2 separate regions of the Homo sapiens genome follow, and region 1 is linked to region 2. Evidence: promoter capture Hi-C in 16 types of primary human blood cells and fetal thymus (Javierre and others, 2016). All regions are on one chromosome and are shown on one strand. Each heading gives the region's core, a stretch centred on a gene start or on the middle of the fragment in contact. The rest is flanking DNA. Distances are from core to core; before and after follow the strand shown. Region 1 overlaps UBE2R2 (ubiquitin conjugating enzyme E2 R2). Region 2 holds the start of MYORG (myogenesis regulating glycosidase).

Region 1 (6,130 bases), core at 3,627-6,126, 550 kb after region 2:
GAGACGGGGTTTCACCATGTTGGTCAGGCTGGTCTTGAACTCCTGATCTCACGTAATCTGCCCACCTCAGCCTCCCAAAGTGCTGGGATTACAGGCATGGGTCACCACGCCGAGCCTGATTTAATTTTTAATTTAATTTTATTAATTAATTAATTTTTTTTTTTAGATGGAATTTCACTCTTGTTGCCCAGGCTGGAGTGCAATGGCGCAATCTCAGCTTACTGCAAATTCCACCTCCCGCATTCAAACAATTCTCCTGCCTGAGCCTCCCAAGTAGCTGGGATTTCAGGCGTGCGCCACCACACCAGGCTAATTTTTGTATTTTTAGTTGAGACAGCGTTTCGCCATGTTGACCAGGCTGGTGCCGAACTCCTAATCTCAAGTGATTCGCCCGCTTTGGCATCCCAAAGTGCTGGGATTACAGGCGTGAGCCACGGTGCCCAGCCTATTTATTTTTAATTTAACTTATTTATTTTTGAGACTGAGTCTTGCTCTGTTACCCAGCTAGAGTACAATGGCATGCTCATGGCTCACTGAAGCCTCGACCTCCCAGGCTCAAGTGATCCTCCCACCTCAACTCAACCTTCTAAGTAGCTGGGACCAAAGACACAAACTGCCATGCTTGACTAATTTTTTTTTATTCGAACAGCGTCAAAAAATAATAATAATAATAAGACAATAACCAAAACCTTTTTATTTTTTTTTGAGGCAGAGTCTCACTGTCGCCCAGGCTGGAGCGCAGTGGCGCGATCTCGGCTCACTGCAGCCTCCGCTTCCTGGGTTCAAGCGATTGGCCTGGGTTCAAGAGATTCTCCTGCTTCAGCCTCTCGGATAGCTGGGACTACAGGTTCACGACATCATGCCTGGCTAATTTTTGGATTTTCAGTAGATGTGGGGTTTCACCACGCTGTCCAGGCTGGTCTCGAACTTCCGAGCTCAGGTGATCTGCCCACCTCTGCCTCCCAAAGTGCTGGGTAAAAATTATAATCGTGAGCCACTGCACCCACCCAATAACCAAAACATTTTTATATGTATTTGTTACTAAATCAAATAAAGGTGTTTAAAGTGGACTATTCACTTTTCTTTTTTTTTGGAGGGGGCGGCAGGGGACAGAGTCTCACTCTGTTGCCCAGACTGGAGTGCAATGGCGTGATCTCAGCTCACTGCAACCTCTCCGCCTCTGGATTCAAGCCATTCTCCTGCCTCAGCCTCCCGGGTAGCTGGAACTACAGGCACGTGCCACCATGCCCTGCTAATTTTTTGTAGTTTTAGTAGAGACGGGGTTTGACCGTGTTAGCCAGAATGGTCTCAATCTCCTGGCCTCGTGATCCGCCTGCCTCGGCCTCCCAAAGTGCTGGGGTTACAGGCGTGAGCCACCACTCCTAGCCACTTTGCATCTTAAATACATATTCCAACACCTGAATTTTCCAATTATCATGTGGAAGATCATTTAAGTAACATCAAACCTTGGTGATGTGAACTAAATTTACCTCTTCAACTTAGTATCTATCATTCCATTCACTTCAGAGTCAACTAATTTTGAGGTACATAAGCATAATCTCTGAATAACAATTTCTTGCTGAATAAAGTTGATATTAACACAATCAAAGAGGTTAAATTTTACTCAGGAATCTCTGTAGGATTTTTTTTTTTTTTTTTGAGACAGAGTCCCATTCTGTTGCTCAGGCTGGAGTGCAGTGGCACAAGATTTTGGCTCACCGCAAACCTGCACCTCCTGGGTTCAAGCGATTCTCCTGCCTCAGCCTCCCAAGTAGCTGGGACTACAGGCGCATGCCACCACACCCGGCTACTTTTTGTATTTTTAGTAGAGATGGGGTTTCACCATATTGGCTATGCTGGTCTTGAACTCCTGACCTCAAGTGATCTGCCCACCTCCGCCTCCCAAAAGTGCTGGGATTACAGGTGTGAGCAGGCATGAGCCACTGCATCCAACCAACTCAGATATCTCTGTAGTCGTATGTGAAGCAGTTCAAAAGAAGTTCAGAAACATAAAAGAATTAAACCTTTTCAATATAATCTTTAAGCAAGATGGAAATCTGTAGTCCTAAACTCTGAATTTATACCTTTTCCTCACTGTTATTTTTCCATAACTAGATTATCAGAGGTAGCCTAATTTGCTGGATGGTCTCCTTTCTCTCACGTGTCTCCAACTGACCATTAAGTTGGAAAGATGGAACAGAACATTTTATCATTATGTTGAAAAATGGTCTAACTAGCCTTAAAGCTTTAAAAGCTTTGCTTTTGGACAGGTGTGGTGGCTCATGCCTGTAATCCCAGCACTTTGGGAGGCCGAGGTGGGTGGATTACCTGAGGTCAGGAGTTTGAGACCACCCTGACCAACATGGTGAAACCCCATCTCTACTAAAAATACAAAAATTAGTCTGGCATGGTGGCACACGCCTGTAGCCCCAGCTACTCGGGAAGCTGAGGAGGAGAATTGCTTGGACCCAGGAGATGGAGGCTGCAGTGAGCCAAGATTGTACCACTGCACTCCAGCTTGGGTAACAGAGACTCTGTCTCAAAAAAAAAAAAAAAAAAAGCTTTGCTTTTATGAAGATCATTCTTTTTGTTTTTGTTGTTTGCCTCCCAAAGTGCTGGGATTACAGGCGACCGCCTGGCCGATCATTCTTAAAAGCTCTAAGGTTATCATTGTCCTAATACTTTCACTTACTATCTTTAAGGAAGTGACTTTTCCTACAATTTGCTTTTCCTTTAATGAGTCCTCAATAAAAATTTTTCCTGACACAAAAGGTGAAAAAAGGAGAATCAACGCAGAGTATTAATTAGGACCTAAATCCTTCAATCCAGGAAGAAATAATCCTTATTTTAGCAAATCTATGACATTGAAACTGGTATTTAAAAAAAAATTTACCAAAAGATTTCAATGAAATGGTCTCTCACAACTAGGTTATAAGTACCACTTGGCTGATGGCAATTACAAGACTTCATGGATTCCAAGAATTTTTTTTTTTTTTTTTTTTGAGACAGAGCTTCACTCTGTTGCCCAGGCTGGAGTACACTGGCATGATCTAGGCTCACTGCAGCCTCCACCTCTTGGGTTCAAGCAATTCTCCTGCCTCAGCCTCCCAAGTAGCTGGGACTGCAGGTGCGGACCATCACACCCGCTAATTTTTTTTTTTTTTTTGAGACAGAGCCTCGCTCTCTCGCCCAGGCTAGAGAGCAGTGCCTCGATATCAGTTCACTGCAAGCTCCGCCTCCCGGGTTCACGCCATTCTCCTGCCTCAGCCTCCCAAGTAGCTGGGACTACATGTGCCTACCACCATGCCTGGCTAATTTTTTTGTATTTTTTTAGTAGAGATGGGGTTTCACCACGTTAGCCAGGATGATCTCCATCTCCTGACCTCGTGATCCGCCCGCCTCGGCCTCCCAAAGTGCTAGGATTACAGGCATGAGCTACCGCGCCCGGCCCACACCAGCTAATTTGTGTATTTTTAGTGGAGACCGGGTTTCACCATGTTGGCCAGGCTGGTCTTGAACTCCTGACATCAGGTGATCCACCCGCCTCGGCCTCCCAAAGTCCTGGGATTACAGGAATGAGCCACCACACCTGGCCATCTAAGAAATTTCTTAATCAAAAAGAAGTTAAAAGGTAGAAAAATATGCATCTTGTAATCAACTAAACAGGATAAAAGCATATTCTATGAAAAACTAAGGCATCATATTTGGTTTGAAAAATGTTCTGAGAAACAACAAAAAGTGAAACTTCATTTAGTTTCCAAAACCCTTAGACCTTAACTGTGTTTCCATTTATAACGTTACCTTAGTTCACCCAGTACTCAAGACAACTTCATCTTCCAGAAAGAGACAGCTAAATGCCCTAAGAGGTAGTTTCAAAGTTAACTGAGAGAAATGGGGGAATAAAAGAGCATTCGTTTTATAATTTTAAAGGAGCTGTTTAAAATTGTCTTTAAGTTGCCTATCCAAATACCTTACAAGAGGATTCTTAGCTCATCGGCAGTAAACCCTCTGAAAAAGATACATAAAATTAGTTTACGTGTACCCATTTTCTCTGAGAAAATTCTTCAATTTCTCAAAAGAATCCCTGTCTCAAAAAGGCAAACAATCATTTTCCTAAAAAAATTTTTTCAGCCAGGCGCGGTGGCTCATGCCTGTAATCCCAGCACTTTGGGAGGCCAAGGCGGGTAGATCATCTGAGGTCAGGAGTTTGAGACCAGCCTGGACAACATGGTGAAACCCCGTTTCCACTAAAAATACAAAAATTAACCGGGCGTGCTGGCACGCACCTGTAATCCCAGCTACTTGGGAGGCTAAGGCAGGAGAACTGCTTGAACCCGGGAGGCAGAGGTTGCAGTGAGCCAAGATCGCGCCACTGCACTTCAGCCTGCGCAACAGAGCAAGACTCCATCTAGGAAAAAAAAAAATTTTTTTTCAACTATATTTTACCAATTAAAGAGTCATAAAATAGGCTGGGTGCAATGGTTCAGACCTATAATCGCAGTGCTTTGGGAGGCTGAGGCGGGAGGATTACTTGAGCCCAGGAGTTCAAGACAAGCCTGGACAACATAGCGAGACTCTGTCTCTAAAATAATAATAATAGGCTGGGCACACTGGCTCACATCTGTAATCCCAGCACTTTGGGAGGCCAAGGTGGGCAGATCACTTGAGGCCAGGAGTTCAAGACCAGCCTGGCCAACATGGCAAAACCCCATCTCTACTAAAAATTACAAAAATTAGCCAGGCATGGTGGTGCACGCCTGTAATCCCAGCTACTTGGGAGGCTGAGGCACGAGAACTGCTTGAACACAGGAGGTAAAGGTTGCAGTGAGCCGAAATCACACCACTGCAGTCCAGCCTGAGCAACAGAGCGAGACTCAGCTAAAAAAAAAAAAAAAAAATTAATAAGAAGAAGAAAAAGAAAAAAAAGAAATAAAATATCTAAATGACATTGCCAGATCTAGGCTAAGTCTGGTTTGTTTTTTTAGGGGGAAGAGGGAAGGCAGAAAATAGATTCATTCATTGCAAAACAAATGAAGCATAGGAAATAATGCATATTCTCTTATTAAAAAAAAAATTATTTGGCTGGGTGTGGTAGCTCACATCTGTAACACCAGCACTTTGGGAGGCCAAGGTGGGAGGATTGTTTGAAGCCAGGAGTTCGAGACCAGCCTGGCCTATGAGACCCTTTCTGCATAAACAATTTTTTTTTTAAATTAAAACGAGTGTGGTATGCACCTGCAGTCCCAGCTACTCAGGAGGGTGAGGCAAGAGGATCCCTTGAGCCCAAGTGTTTCAGGCTGCAGTGAGCTATGATCACACCACTGCACTCCAGCCTGGGCAACAAAGTGAGACCCTATCTCTTAAAAAAAAAAAAAAAAGGTTTTGAAGAGTTTCTTTAATGTAAGTCAGTGTAGGCCAGGTGTGGTGGCTCAGGCCTGTAATCCCAGCACTTTGGGAGGCTGAGGTGAGCGGGATCACCTGAGGTCAGGAGTTTGAGACCAGCCTAACCAACATGGAGAAACCTCGTCTCTACCAAAAATACAGAATTAGCTGGGCATGGTGGCGCATGCCTGTAATCCCAGCTACTCAGGAGGCTGAGGCAGAAGAATCGCTTGAACCCAGGAGGCGGAGGTTGCAGTGAGCCGAGATCGCTCCACTGCACTCCAGCCTGGGCAATAAGAGCAAAACTCAGTCTCAAAAAAAAAAAATATATATATATATATGTCAGTGTTGAGTCTAATAAAGATGTTCCTAATAAGGAAAACTTTAAGTATACAACAAATACTTTCTAAATTATCAGACTGGAGTTTTCTAAAAATGGAACACATCTATATTTCATTACCTCAATCAAATTATTTAATAAAATCAAAACTATAAAAGGTTGGCCAGGAGTGGTGGCTCAGGCCTCTAATTAGGATTACATTTTGGGAGGCTGAGATGGGCAGATCACTTAAGGTCAGGGGTTCAAGACCAGCCTGGCCAACATGGTGAAACCCTGTCTCTACTAAAAATACAAAAAGAATTAGCCAGGTTTCATGGCGCACGCCGGTAATCCCAGCTACTCGGGAGGCTGAGGCAAGAGAATCGCTTGAACCCAGGAGGCAGAGGTTGCAGTGAGCTGAGATCGTGC
Region 2 (6,441 bases), core at 3,434-5,933:
CCCTGGAGAGGTGGGGAGCTGCTGAAGGGCGGGAGAAGTTGCGGCGTGGCGATAGGTCTGGGTGTTCTGGGAGGACCCCTAAAAGGGAGCAGCTCTGCCAGGTCAGAGCTTGAGGTAGCATGTGTGCCGCTTCCAGGAGGCCAGGATGGAGACAGCAGTTCGAGGAATGCCCTTGGAATGCCCTCCTAGGCCGGAGCGGCTCAATGCCTACGGTAAAGAGTGGTAGTGGGGCGTTGGAAAGAACGGGTGGAGAGGGTTGGGGAAGGCCGGGAGGAGGGCGGGATGGGTACCTGAAGGACGGGGAGGAGGCCGAGGGTCCTGGAGAGGGTGGAACCCTGAATCTATCCGTCCTGGCTTTTGTCTCCGCCTCACTCTGTCCGTGACTCGGCCTCTTCCCATCCCTGTGCATCTGTCTTTGGGTCTCCTGCGCTGGGGACCCGCGGGAGCAGAGCGCGAAGTGATGGTGAACATGCTGAACTCACTGTCGCGGAACCAGCAGCTGCCGCGGATCACGCCCCGATGCGGGTGCGTGGACCCGCTGCCCGGCCGCCTGCCCTTCCATGGTTACGAAAGTGCTTGCTCGGGCCGCCACTACTGTCTGCGCGGGATGGACTACTACGCCAGCGGGGCGCCCTGCACCGACCGCCGCCTGCGGCCTTGGTGCCGGGAGCAACCGACTGTAAGGTTCGCAGGGCTCCGCCCGCCTCAGCCGGGCTCCACCCCACACAAGCCCCGCCCCAGAACCCCGCCCCCTTCCAGCCCGGCCAGCTTCCGTGCAGGCCCCCAGCCTGCTCTAGCCCCGCGCTGCACGCTCTCGAGGCCCTGCCGTGTCCCGCCCTCGGGCTCCAAGGCCTGAACTAACAACTGAGGCGGGAGAACCAGCACGAAGGTTACTCCAAGTCCCCGACCCCTGTCCCTCTCAAACTGGGCTCAAGGTCAACCTGGCCTCTCTATATGCTCTGGAGGTCCCGTCAGAGGGTTTTTGAGGAAGAAACCCCGCACATCAGTCGCATCCTCTTCCCCCATCTCCTTGGCCCTGCCCCCTTTCCTGGACTCCTGGCCCTAGAGACGCAGGTTCTAGCCTGTGGAGTGCCCTGCGTTCTCAGAAAAATGTCCTCTCTTGCTGGTCCCCCGTCACCGTCGGTAGTGGGTGCGGTCATTCCTGGGGGCTACGTGAGCCGGGAAATGGTGACCACTTTACCAGAATGGCTCTGGCCTCCTCGGATCCCGCACCACCTGCGGAGGTAGGCACCCTCGCGTGTTACTGCTAAGAAAACTGAGGCCCGAGCGCACAGCTGGAGCCCAGACTGCAGCTCGGCATTCGTCCTGCACGCGGCGGCAGCCAAGCCTGGGAGAACTTTGTCCGCGGTAGCCCAGAGAGCTGTGCAGTGGGGGTCCATAGTGATCCCCCGCCCCTCTCCAGGCCGAGAGAGCCTGATTCATTGTGCAAGACTGAGTCTTATCCCTCTCAAGGGCATAGGGGAGTGGGAAAGTGTCTGAGCCTCTAGGAAGCTCAGAAATGATGCCTCGTCCTACTGCTGGAGAAATTGCTGTCCAGTGGCGGGGATCCGGTGGTTCCAGGTCCTCAACGCCCGGAGCCCGACCTTCCCCAGGGTCCAGCGCTCTTTCCTCAACGGCAGAAATGAGGCCTTGCCGGGAGGGAGTCTTCCAAGGGGGGTTCCCGAATCGGTGCTGCAGTGGGGGTTTTGAAGGGTGAGGAAGAAGGAGAGGAGGATTTCCGAGCCTTGGGACGGACACCTGAAGCGCCGCCCAGGGGCTTGGTCTAAATCGGGGGATGAGAGTCAAAAGGCCCAACCCCTCCATGCTCGCGGCTTCCTCCTTCTCCAGATGTGTACCTCCCTACGAGCACCGGCCCGGAATGCAGTGTGCTGTTACAACTCCCCCGCCGTCATACTACCCATATCCGAACCTTAGGTAAGTCTAACGCGCACACACTCATTTGCACACGCACCCTGAAGGCTTGGTGAGGCGGGGCTGGGGGAGGATGTCTGGTAGACGGGATGAGAACGCTCCGCGGTGCACTGACAGGCACATACCACGAGGGGGAGCTAGTGGCATGGAGCAGTCAAAGGTGGTAAGGACAGAGGACCTTAAGAGAGGGCTAGGAGGCCGGTATTGAAGGGTTACAGGTTGGCAGTGGGCTTACAGCCAAAGGCGTTGGTTCAGAGCTTGAAGTAATGAGTAAGAAGTCGATGTTAAGGAGGAAATATTGGGTATCAGCAACTTAACAGTAGAACCTAAGGTCAGGAGGTCAGTATTGGAACCCAAGGTCAGTGCTATAGACAAAGTGTAGGGATAAGGTTAGCATTGCAAACTGGAGTCAGATATTCACTTTGACATATGAGGATCCAAAACGGCTGACCCATCTCTTCCTGTAGATGGGACACAAGTCACTTCAAGAAGTCTGGTGGTCCCCAGAGAAACAACTATGTTATCCATCCTGAGTTTGTGTCTGAGACCTATCCCGACTATCGTTGCTGGTAGAGCCTGGGCTTGCTGTGCCAAGGGGGCAGAGCAATAAATAAACTCTTCAACCCCAAAGCCTGCCTCCTGTGTCCTTACCCAGCAGGATCTGGAAGTGAAGGGCCAGTCACTCAGGCCTCTATCAAACCCCTTCAACTGAGATGCAATTTTTCTCAAAGTCACCCTTCCCTGGGCCCTTCCAACCCCATCATCTCAGTACATCCCTGAGTGCCCTCCTGACACAGAACAGTAGCCTTATATCCAGCTGCTATCCTCCTCCCCTGAATCCCAGAGCCCAAACGGATGGGTCCACCCTGCAATGCAGGCAGGAGCCATCTACTTTCCACCCCACGAAGACCCTCCAGCTAACATTTCTTCAGTATGCTCCCAAACTTAGATGCCCTCCCACTCATCAGAGGACCCAGAATCCTTCCTTCCACAGTCAAAGACCTATCCCTACACCCAAAGCTCTTGATCTCTGCTTCCAGGAGTCCCCATCACAGCCTCCCAAAAGCCTCTCTGTGCTCAGACACCCTTGCTGCACAAGGTGTGTCCCCCATTCCAAGTCCAACTGGTCAAAACATAATTTTGGAGGGTCTCATGACAAAGAAATTTCAAGTTGCAAAACAAAGCCCTGTTTCTCTGCCCCTCAGGGAGCGAGAAGGGGCCATTCTAAAATCTCTGTGATCTTCAGTATTTTTATTTCTGCATCAAATAGATATGAAACCAGCTGGGTGCAGAGGCTCACACCTGTAATCTCACCACTTTGGGAGGCAGAGGCAGGAGGATCACTTGAGCCCAGGAATTCGATACCAGCTGGGGCAACATAAAGAGACCCCTTCTCTACAAAAAAATTTAAAAATTAGCAGGGTATGGTGGCACACACATGTGGTCCAAGTTACTCAGGAGCCTGAGGCGGGAGGGGATAGCTTGAACCAAGGACATTGAGGCTGCAGTGAGCTATGTTAACGCCACTGCACTCCAGCCTGGGCGACAGAGCGAGACCCTCTCTCAAAAAAATAAAGACCGGACGCGGTGGCCCACACTTGTAATCCCAGCACTTTGGGAGGCCGAGGCAGGTAGATCACCTGAGGTCAGGAGTTTGAGACCAGCCTGACCAACATGGTGAAACTCTGTCTCTACTAAAAATACAAAATTAGCCAGGCGCGGTGGTGCGTGCCTGTAATCCCAGCTACTTGGGAGGCTGAGGCAGGAGAATTGCTTGAACCCGGGAGGCGGAGTTTGCAGTGAGCTGAGATCGTGCCATTGTACTCCAGCCTGGGCAACAAGAACGAAACTCAAAAATAAATAAATATAAAAATAAAATAAAATAAAAAAGAAATGAAACCTCAGAGTCTTGCCCAGCCCCCGGGGAGAGGGGCATGGCGGGGCACACCCACTTTCCCGCAGCTTGGGCATTTCTAACTAAAGGCTGTAACTTAGGAGGAGGGGCTGGACCCTATAAATAACTAGTCTGGGGGTAGCGGTCTGGGAGGCGGGTGACGTTGCAAAACACCGAGCAGAAACCGGTCTTCTCAGTCCCTGACCTCGGACACCGCTGGTTTGGTCCGGTGGGAACCGACAGCTTGGACTCGCGGCGGGTTGGAACTACAGCTCCCTCCGTGGGGCCCTCGATTGGAAGCACCTGCATTGGGAGCTGAGATACTCGCGGAATTCCGCCACCACTTTTCCGTATGGAAAGCTGAGGGCTTGTGAGAGCGTTATACCGATATGGCCTCCACCTGTCCAAACCGGGAAGGAAGGAATTCCAATGGCCAGCTCTGCTCCTTTACCCTGCAGCTCTCTCCCTCTCATCCTCATTCCAAACCTAGCCTAGAGGTGCAAGAACCCCAACCTTCCGCAGCTGCTCCTTTCTGCAGAACTACATGTCCCAGCAGGCCTGGGGCCGAGCCCCGCCCGCTTGCGGGTTAGCAGTGGCCCAGGAGGGGCGGGCCCGCCGGCGGGAGTCGGAGCCGCGGGGCGCAGGACTGAGCAAGCCTGAAATGCCAGGGGCAGAGCACAGAGCGGTGGGAGGAAGGTGGGGCTGAGGGGCGGGGCCACAGATCCGCCTGATAACCTGGGAGGAGGGGTCGAACGTCAAGGGCAGGGCTGGACTCTGAGGCCCGAGACGAGACTGGATGACTGGGGCGTGGCCGAGGAACCCCAGGGCGGGACCCGAGGAGGGGCTGTGCCCTGCCAGACAGAGCCCCGCGCGGCGCGGCGGCAGCTTCACTCTGGTTCAAGCGCAGGGGATCGGCGGGAAGCTCTTTCACCCCCGCTTCTGCCGGGCTGTAACTGCAATGGGTGAGCCCAGCGGGAGGGCTGTGGGGGGCGGGGGGCTGCTGAAGGAGCACGATTCCTGAACTTTCGCTCCCACCGATGAATGGGTGGAGCGAGCCTGAACACCTGGGCCCATCCCACGGCCGCGATTCCCGCGGGGCGACAGGTCCCTTGACCTCGGTCGGCCCCTTCGGACAGTATAGCCTTCAGGGCGGGGTAGGGAGGGCGGCTGTGGAGTATTCCAGGCTATGTAGGCAGTCACTCGATCCCCGCGGATACCGTCGCCTGGCAGGAGAGGGAGATGGGCCGGATCGAGTTGCCTTTGACATTTCCATCCCCCCGGGAACTGTGTCCAACTAACGATTCTACTTGGAATGGCCTCCCCTCAGTTGAGTCGGGCGGGGCCCTCCCCCTCAGACCAGACTAGCTGTGGCAGCCAAGGCTGAGGTTGAGTGTCCGGTGGGGAGAGGCTCAGCAGGGGCAGAGCCCAGACTCCACCTGGCGGAGGCGGCAGATTACAGAGGTCTCTGGCACCACTGTTAACACCGGAACCACAGACTTCCTCCCCCAAAGCCCCGGTACCAGATGCCATTAAAATTGCCCTCTTTGCTGCCCTCGTGGTCTTCGTGGTCCGCGTGGAGCAAGCAGCAGCACCAGCCCTTGGAAAGACAGGCCTCACCATGCCATGTCCATCTGATGGAAGCTGGTCCCACCAGCTCAGCCCCAGGGCTCCTTTCTGCTACTGCATTCAGGCAGCCAGGTCAGATCATTATCTCCCATCTCCTAAAACTTACACTGTGGAGAGCTGGGCTGGGATTTTAGATCCAGGCAGCCTTGATACCTGGCTAACTTCAGACAAGTTCCTTTTTCTGTTTGGGCCACGTTTCCTCACCTGTAAAATGGACACTGCAGCTATGTCTGCTGTTCCACATTGTTGATAGAACTGGATGCTGTGGTGACATTTGGGACACTATCATGGTGCCTGGGGTGGGTGGGTGCCCAGGCCTGTGGGCTTCTGTCTTTCATCAAAGAACTTCAGATCCCAGAAAATTAAGATTCTCAAAACATAACTGTCGGAAAGGGCTTTTGAATCCACCTTGGTGGCCTCTTCCTGCCTCCAGGGCTCATGAGATAGGCTGACTTCATATGAAAGTTTTGAGGATGAGGAAGTCTCTCTCCTCTTCAGATACTGACCCTCTCTCTCCTTATTTCCTTGGTGCCCAGAATAGGGCTTTGGTTATCTTGAATGAATGAATATAAACTCACAGGTGTGATCTGAGCCACCTAAAGCCTTCTTTGGGTTCTGCTCAGCTTGAGGGCATCACCTAAAGGCCACTGGCTGCATTTTCCAGGAGGTGTTTTCTAAGCTGTATCTATATAGGAATGGGGAGGAAAGCTAAGTCATTGTAGACTGAGAGAAAGGGAATAAGAGTCTGTTCCAGACCAGCTAGGGCTGACAAGCTTAGGCAGCTGGGGGCAGAGGGCACTGAGAATGAGGCCCTGAGCTAGCACCGTGTGGGAAGTGCCTATGGGAGGAGCTGTGTATTGACATTTAGGATCAAATTCTGCTCCACACCTTGCATTCTTGCATGGGGGAGGTGAAAAACCTGAGTATTTCCGGCATCTCCTTGGAAGTCCCTGGGGACTTAGAGACAGACACTGGCATCTGGGAGGAGG

The links. The method cuts DNA at HindIII sites, captures the fragments that hold promoters and counts their contacts. A CHiCAGO score of 5 or more calls a contact.
Region 1: a contact is called between a fragment that was not itself captured here and the fragment with the promoter of MYORG in region 2, in 1 of 17 cell types (naive CD8 T cells). The highest score is 5.4, in naive CD8 T cells.

Annotation. Positions count from the first base shown.
Region 1 is chr9:33,821,675-33,827,804 of GRCh38, reverse strand. The region is part of intron 1 of UBE2R2 (ubiquitin conjugating enzyme E2 R2); the gene reads right to left. Among named protein-coding and RNA genes, the nearest start is that of UBE2R2-AS1, 5.9 kb to the right of the region's middle. The HindIII fragment of the contact is 4,626 bases long and covers 2,564-6,130 here.
Region 2 is chr9:34,375,140-34,381,580 of GRCh38, reverse strand. MYORG (myogenesis regulating glycosidase) reads left to right here and starts at 4,683. Exons shown (of 2, transcript NM_020702.5): 1 at 4,683-4,788. SPMIP6 (sperm microtubule inner protein 6) reads left to right here. Exons shown (of 7, transcript NM_032596.4): 4 at 137-212; 5 at 450-679; 6 at 1,849-1,935; 7 at 2,400-2,562. The coding sequence ends at 1,935. It overlaps LOC124902144 (a long non-coding RNA gene), which reads right to left and starts at 681. Exons shown (of 2, transcript XR_007061464.1): 1 at 291-681. RefSeq lists enhancers at 163-768, 4,754-5,334, 5,335-5,916 and a silencer at 4,319-4,708. The HindIII fragment of the contact is 6,785 bases long and covers 1-6,227 here.